Linked DNA regions of Homo sapiens: all the other regions are linked to region 1. Evidence: promoter capture Hi-C in 16 types of primary human blood cells and fetal thymus (Javierre and others, 2016). All regions are on one chromosome and are shown on one strand. Each heading gives the region's core, a stretch centred on a gene start or on the middle of the fragment in contact. The rest is flanking DNA. Distances are from core to core; before and after follow the strand shown.

The links. The method cuts DNA at HindIII sites, captures the fragments that hold promoters and counts their contacts. A CHiCAGO score of 5 or more calls a contact.
Region 2: a contact is called between a fragment that was not itself captured here and the fragment with the promoter of LEPR in region 1, in 1 of 17 cell types (activated CD4 T cells). The highest score is 7.2, in activated CD4 T cells.
Region 3: a fragment that was not itself captured here is called in contact with the fragment with the promoter of LEPR in region 1 in 3 of 17 cell types (fetal thymus, total CD4 T cells and non-activated CD4 T cells); the score reaches 6.8 in fetal thymus.

What each region holds. Positions count from the first base shown.
Region 1 is chr1:65,419,340-65,421,974 of GRCh38, forward strand. It overlaps LEPR (leptin receptor), which reads left to right and starts at 1,329. Exons shown (of 20, transcript NM_002303.6): 1 at 1,329-1,401. LEPROT (leptin receptor overlapping transcript) reads left to right here and starts at 1,329. Exons shown (of 4, transcript NM_017526.5): 1 at 1,329-1,401. The coding sequence starts at 1,386. RefSeq lists enhancers at 643-1,175, 1,176-1,709, 1,783-1,832 and silencers at 823-892, 913-1,412. The HindIII fragment of the contact is 9,332 bases long and covers 273-2,635 here.
Region 2 is chr1:63,515,858-63,518,492 of GRCh38, forward strand. All of the region lies in intron 1 of ITGB3BP (integrin subunit beta 3 binding protein), which reads right to left. It overlaps LOC102724319 (a long non-coding RNA gene), which reads left to right. Exons shown (of 3, transcript XR_426701.4): 3 at 1,899-1,937. Among named protein-coding and RNA genes, the nearest start is that of ITGB3BP, 6.0 kb to the right of the region's middle. The HindIII fragment of the contact is 5,782 bases long and covers 1-2,635 here.
Region 3 is chr1:66,447,265-66,449,899 of GRCh38, forward strand. No RefSeq gene overlaps it. Among named protein-coding and RNA genes, the nearest start is that of SGIP1, 86 kb to the right of the region's middle. The HindIII fragment of the contact is 4,206 bases long and covers 1-2,635 here.

The sequences.
Region 1 (2,635 bases), core at 79-2,578:
CCAAAGAGCTGTGTGACAGGCAAGTCCTATCCTTTCTGCACCTCTTTCCTTAAATGTAAGTTGAAGCATTTGGACCAGACTGTTTCAATGATCTTCTAGATTGCTTTTGCCAAAACAGAACTCTCCATTCCTGTAAGATAAGTACACAATGGCTCTCAGAGATCTAAAAACTGGCCTTGGTTACCTGCAAACTTTGAGGCCCCAAGGCACAAAAATAATAGCTTTTTTTTTTTATTTTTTTTTTTAAGGTTCATGAAAGCTTCGGACACAAAAGCTTATATGGTCTTCGTCTCTATAAATAAACCAGGGAGTAAAGAAAAACCCCGCTAGTTTCAGTAAAGCGTTGCTATTAAGCAAAGCAAACCTATGCAAATATCAAGTTCTTAATGAGGAGTGTTTCCTAAGGGGCCTGTCCTCTGGTACCCCGCCTCTCCTCTGCCACAGTCATGTGAAGGCAGACAGGCACACACTCGCACACTAGCACGCACTTGGGAGCTCAGGGAACATAACACTGGTTAGTGAGTCGGTGTCCCTCTCCCATCGATTGCAACTTTTCCCCTCCTTCCCTCTCCTGCCTCTCCCCACTTTCTACATCTCCGTTCTCAGGAAGGCTCAGGGAGGATCCCCCGCTGCGTGCACTGCGTTCTGAGAGGCCGGGGAGAGACTCTGGGCCCGCGGTCGGGGCGGAGCCAAGGTCCCAACCCACATTGAACGGGCTTGAGGATTACTTGGAGGGCTCAGGATCTAGGAGGAGGGCCCAGGGCACTGGGTTGGGGTTACTCTGGGAAAGCTCTGTGGGACCAGGTGGGACCTTAGGGCTGGAGATGGACTCTGCGAGCTGGGGGCGGAGTTCTAGACTGGCAGGAGCGGAGTTCTGGGTGGCGGGGGCGGGGTCGGGACCAGCAGGGACGGCCTCTGAGAGTTGGGGGCGGAATTCTGGGCCGGTGAGGGCTGGGGCGGGACCAGCAGGGGAGGCCTCCGCGAGCTAGGGGAGGAGCTCTGCATTGTCTGGGGCGGGGCTTCGAGTAGCGGTAGCGAGGTCTGGAGCCGCAGGCGCTGCCTCCGCGAGGTAGGGGAGGAGCTCTGTACTGTCAGGGGCGGGGCTCTGAGTAGCGAGGCCGGGTCTGAACTATCAGGCGCGGCCTCTGCGAGCTGGGGGCGGGGTTCTGCACCGGCGGGGGCGGGGTTGTGAGTGGTGGGGGCGGGGTCTGGAGCAGCAGGCGCCGCGTTTGCGAGCTAAGGTCGGAGTTCTGCACCGGCGGGGGCGGGGCTCTGCGTGGCCGGGGCGGGCTCGGGATCCGCGGGGCGACTCCCGGTCTGGCTTGGGCAGGCTGCCCGGGCCGTGGCAGGAAGCCGGAAGCAGCCGCGGCCCCAGTTCGGGAGACATGGCGGGCGTTAAAGGTACATCGCGGTCCCCGGCTCGCTTGTCGTGTGGTGGGGTTGCCACCTCCGTTCCGGTCAAGCCTGGGGCTGCGCCTTCCGCGCGCCGTTGGGGAACGGCCTCACCACCCTTCCCGCCTCTCCGGTTCGGGAGGCGATCGACCGCTCCCTTCGTCCCTTGGGGTGTGGGTGGAGCGGCGTTTCGGGGGAGCCTTGGCCCTTTTTGCAAGGCCGCTGGCCTTCCTGCTCTCCAGTGGCGGCACCAGACCCCTCCCCAGCCTGAGCCCTCGGCGAGAGCGGCGCCCTCCACCTCTCCTGAGTTTTTAAACAAGGTTTCCACTTCTTGACGCCACCCTAACGCCTTTCTTCTGGTTTTCTGCCCCTCCGCAGTTTCCTATTTGCCACAAAGGACCCTTTGTCTCCAGCGTTCTTAGCATTGGGAAACTTAATCCTCTTTTTCCTAATGATTTTTCCAACTGGGCAGAGTTGACCGCGGGCGGGTGTCAATGGAAAGCACCCAGAAAGACGGTGTTTCTCGCAGTCGTGGAGAGTAGATTACGTGTAATTTTAATACTGCTTTCTTCGGTGTTTTCTCTGTTTATGGACAGAGAAGAAACCAGTGTGTGTGTAGTATGTGTTTTTTGCATGGGGCAGTTGGTAAAAACACCGCGTCCCTTATCTGTATGGCTTCAGAGCAATGCGAGACGGAAAAGGTTTTTTGCAAGGCTTCCTGTATTTTGGTAGGAAAACATTCCATTTCTAATCTGTCGAATAGAGTAGCATGACTTGTTTTTATATTGGCTTTTATATCATCCTTGAAATTTGCACCCAAAGATATCCCCAGTTAACATCTGCTATAAACATGTAGATAGTATATATACGAGTACGCCTCTGTTCACTATGAATTTATCCGAGTATGTGAGCTGTTAGCAGCAGACATTTTATCGTTATTTCTGGCTGACTTTTATACTTAATATCAGTTTAGTAAACATGGTTTACTTGGAGAGTGTCGACTGTGTTATATATCCATTTGAAGCCAATGCCGAAAACAGATGAAAAGTAGTGTCTCAGTACTACACATGATCAGAAACTACCAAATCATGATCACGTTTATGTGTGAATGTGTTAGAAAATTGTGATGTAGTGAAAAAAAAGGAAGTCTGAAATGGAAACGGACTAAGGGAAGGAAGCATTTTACAGATTGTTCAACTTTTATTGAGGAACTACTGTATGCCAGAGACTTAGGATACAAAGA
Region 2 (2,635 bases), core at 88-2,587, 1.9 Mb before region 1:
TACCCAGCAACCACCACACTACTGGGTATCTATCAAAGGAAAATAAATCATTATATCAAAAAGACAAATGTACTTGTACATTTATTGTAGCACTATTCACAACAGCAAAGTCATGGAATCATCTTGTGTCCATCAATGGATGACTGGATAAAGAAATGTGGTATATATACACCATGGAACACTATGCAGCCATAAAAAAGAATGATACCGTGTTGTTCTGCAACAACATGAATAGAGCTGGAAATCATTATCTTAACTGGAATAACTCAGAAGCAGAAAATTAGGCCAGGCATGGTGGCTCACATCTGTAATCCCAACACTTTGGGAGGCTGAGCTGAGCAGATTGCTTGAGTCCAGAGTGAGCCTGGGAGGCAGAGGTTGTGGTGAGCAAACTGCACCACTGCACTCTAGCCTGGGTGACAGAGCAAGACCATGTCTCAAAAAAAAAAAAAAAAAAAAAGAGGAGAGGGGAGGGGAAGGGAAGCGGAGCGGGGGAAGGTGGGGGAGAAGGGGGGGGGAAGGGAAAAGGAAAGAAAAGAAAGAAAACAAGAGAAAAAAGAGGAAAGGAAAGCAAAGAAAATCAACTGGGTGTGGCAGTGCTCACACCTGTGATCTCAGCATTTTAGGAGGCTAAGGCATGAGGATTGTTTGAGATCAACATGGGCAACACAATGAGACTCTGTCTTTACAAAAAAATTAAAAATTAGGCCAGTGTGGTGGTGTACACCTGTAGTCCCAGCTACTTGGAAGGCTGAGGCAGGAGGATCACTTGAGCCCAGGAGGTGAAGGTTGCAGTGAGCCATGTTCATGCCACTGCAGTCCAGCCTGGGTGACAGAGTAAGACCTTGTTTCATGAAAAAAAAAAAAAAAGAAAAAAGAAAAAAAAAGAAAAGCAAATACCACATGTTCTCATCTATTAGTGGGAGCTAAACAATGGGTACATATGAACATACAGAGGGAAATAATAGACACTGAGACTTCAAAAGGAGGAAGTATGGGAGGAAGGTGAGGGTTGAAAAATTATCTTTCGGGTACAATGTTCACTATTTGTGTGATGGGCACCTACGAGCTCAAACCTCACCATTATGCAATATATCCTTGTAACAAATCTGCACATATACACCCTGAGTCTATAAAAAATAAAAACAAATAAGTTAGGTATAAATGATCATACTCAAAAAAAGAAAGTACAAAGAAGGAAAATTAGATTACATGAAAAATGAAATATAAAACAGAAAAGATAAAGATAATACCAAATACTATTATACAAGTTTTCATCCACTTAACTTTTTTTAAAAAAGATCCATTTTAAACAGTAGAAATAAAAAAAGAGCAAAACTTAAAAAGAAATGTTTGTTAGGATTATGACAGGGATTGCATTAAATCTAAACATTGGTGAGAACTAACATTTTAATAATACCACATTTATCACTTAAAAATACTCTCACCAGCATGGCACATGTATATATATGTAACTAACCTGCACATTGTGCACATGTACCCTAAAACTTAAAGTATAATAATAAAAAAATAAAAATAAATAAAAATAAATAAAAAATAAATAAAAATACTCTCATTTATCTTCATCTTTAATTTCTCTAAGGAACATTTTGTAATTTTCACTGTAGAGGTCTTGCATGTCTTATGCTAAATTATTATATGTTTTTATGTAATTATAAATGAAAAATCTTAAACTTCAATTTCCAGGTGTTTATTCCTGAAATATAGAAATATATTGATCTTTGTACACTGATTTTGCATCCTACATCCTTGCTAAATTGTTCTGAAAATTGTTTTATAGATTTTTTAGGATTTTCTTCATACATGATGTCATTGTTGAATCATTAATTTTACTTTTTCCTTTTTTGTTGTTGTTGTTTTTGTTTGTCTTGAGACAGGGTCATCCAGGCTGGAATGCAAGTGACACAATCACAGCTCACTGCAGCCTTGACTTCCTCGGCTCAAGTGATCCTCCTGCCTCAGCCTCCCAAGTAGCTGGGACTACAGGCACGTAACGTCACACCTTGTTAATTTTCATATTTTTTCGTAGAGACAGCGTTTTGCCATATTGCCCAGGCTAATCTTGAACTACTGGGCTCAAGCAATCTGCCTGTCTCAGCCTCCCAAAGTGATGGGATTACCGGCATGAGCCACTGGGCCTGGCCCCACTTTTTCCTTTTTAACACTATGGGTGTTTTTCTGTGTGTGCTTTTTTGAATAGAAGTGGTGAGAGGGCACGTTCTTGCCTTTTTCCTAATCTTAAAAAAGTTTTCGATACTAAATATATTATCTATAGGTTTTTCAAAGAAATGAGAAGTTGCCTCCTATTCCTAGTTTGCTGAGGGTTTTATTTTCTCACGAATGGGTATGTTCTCTGTACAATTAACCAATGAAATCGTCTGGGTCTTTGTGGGAAGATTCTTAGTAACAAATTCTATTTCCTTAATTATGCAGATTTTCTGTATCATCTTATGCCATCATGCTAAGTTGTATTTTTCAAGGAATTTGTCAATTTTGTATAAGTTGTCAAGTTTACTGGAATAAAGGCTTTAATGATATTACCTCTTTCAATATCTATAGCATCTTTAGTGGTATTCTGCTCTTTCATTTTGGATATTGATAGTTTATGTTCTCT
Region 3 (2,635 bases), core at 39-2,538, 1.0 Mb after region 1:
TCTAAGAGTTAAGTAAATAATAACAGAAGCAATGAACTACAACCTGAGCAGGCAGCCGTAGCAGTAAGCAAGTGAGCAGAGGAGGGAGTTATATGGTGGGATTGTCTGGAAATAAATACTTACATTGCTGCAATCAGCACCTCCAATATAGGTTATTGGATTCTTACAGATTGTATTCCATAAAATATAGCTCATAACGAAAACAGAAAAACCAAAACCAAAGAACACACAAGGAGCACATGAGAGACAGCAGAAATAATACATGAAAGATTAGACTTTCAAAGACCAGATATTGGAGTGATCCGAAAAAGAATGTGAAATGCAAACCAAAAATAAAATTCTAAGTCCCCCCAACCAACTCAATGGACCCCTCCTGTCAGCCAAGGGGATTCCAAAGAAACATAAAATACTAGTTCCAGCCATGATGCGAAGGGCAGGGGAATTGGACATGCCTCATTACACCCTCCTCTCTTTGGAATTCAGGCACAACTGTCCAGCATTAAAATTAAAACAGAGATCTCAAGACTGACAAAACAGACTCTGGTAACATTAAGATACCAACTTCCAACCTGACTCAAGCATAGCATCACATGACAGATAGCAGGGCCTGAAAGAAACAAAAGTATTTTACCCCAAATTATAATTCTTTGCCATATTTTGAAATGGCCCTGCAAAGCTGTCTCCTGTGGGGAAAATTTACATTCTGCAGAGAATCCCCTTCCCTTTCCAGGTATTTTTCTGACCCTGAAGGGATTAGATGAGAGTTTAGCATTTTTAAAGGTATGAATAGGAAATATTAGAATATTAGCCATTTATTACTTCTAAGAGCAGCTGCCTATGAGACTTCACCTACATAATAAGAACTGTGGTCTCCACATCACCTTACGTTAACCCAGACACTCCTTTCTGTTGATTCCAGGTCTTTAGATAATAACTAACTCTTTCAACAAATTGTCAATCAGAAAATCTTTGAATTCATCTATGACCTGTAAGCCCCCACTTCAAGTTGTCTCACCTTTCCAGACCAAAGCAATGTATACCTCATATGTATTGATTGATGTCCTGTGTCTCCCTAAAATGTATAAAACCAACCTGTAACCCAACCACATTGGGCACATGTTCTCAGGACCTCCTGAGGCTGTATCATGGGTCATGGTCTTTGCATTTGACTTAGAAGAAATCTCTTCAAATATTTTACAGAGTTTGGCTTTTTGTCAACAGAAACAACCATGTGTAAAAGGTCAAAAGAAATGGAAAAGGAAATTTTAAAAAAGCAAGAAAAACAGAATGTGAAAACTGGGCTGGGCGCAGTGGCTCATGTCTGTAATTCCAGCACTCTGGGAGGCCAAGGTGGGAGGCCTTGAGCCCAGAAGTTTGAGACCAGCCTAGGCAACATGGTGAGACCCCCATCTCTACAAAAAAAACACATTCAAAAAATAAATACAAAAGTTTAAAAACCAATATGGCAGATTTTAGAAAGAACTAAATAAAACTCGTAGATTTCAAATACACACCCGGATCGCAATGGCTGAATGAAACAGCAAATTAAACAAAGATGAAAAGACTATTAGAGAGTTGGAAAATATAACTTGAATAAATTACCTATAACACAGCCCAGAGATATAAAAGGATAGTATATCCAAACAGATGATCAAGATACATAGATGAGATGATGGAAGCAAATTCTAACGCAACTAATTTGGAGTTACAGGAGTAAAAGTTGGTGCACAAGCAGGAGGAGGGCTTGCAAAGCAGCAGTTAGGAAGGTAGGGCGAGATGGTGAGCTGAAATGATCATGGTGGTTATGACGATGATAAAAAAACTGAGGATTCTGAGGTTAATAGCCATTTTCACTATTTTTAAAGCACATCCCACAAGGAGTAGAGCTGATCAAATGATAAAATGAAAGAAAATACACAAGAGAGTTGCTGCTATTTTTAAACGATGAAACTGAATGAAATGGTGTTTGGGAGGAAGCAAAAACAAACTTAAAAATATACAATCCATAGTGATGGACTTGGGAACATAGGATCAAGAATGCTTTGTACACTTTCTTCTTTGTTTTCTAAAATTTCTACAATAAATAGGTAGACAGGGTCTATTGCTTAGGATTGCAAGCTGTATTAGGTTTGCATGGGAAGAAAAAAATGATTTCTCTGTACCCTTCAGGTTCTTTGGCTGAGCCATGAATTAAATTGACATAAGGCATATTAACAGGTGAAAAATAATTTGAATTGTGTATGTATGCACAGGAGTCCCACAAAAATATGAGACTCAAAGAAGAGCTGAATGATTGATGCTTATATATTATGGAATCCTGAGCTACAGACAGAAAGAGGGGTTTGGGGCTCCTAAGGAGTAGTGGGGACAAGTTATGGAAGGATGAGGGGGGGGAAATGTACAGTGAATAAATGTGGTCTCATTATACAGATAAGGATCTCTCAGGTGGTAAGAGTTGTCTCAGGAGCAGCTCTTTCCTTAATACAGATATCTTTATTAATAAAAATTTTCCTTAGAGATGCACATTTATTTTACAAAAGGGTAGCTATTCAGAGCGCTCTTGCATCTAGTTTCTCAAAATAATCTGCTAATAAATAGCATGCCCAAGAGGAATATTTAGGGGTGATTTGTCCTG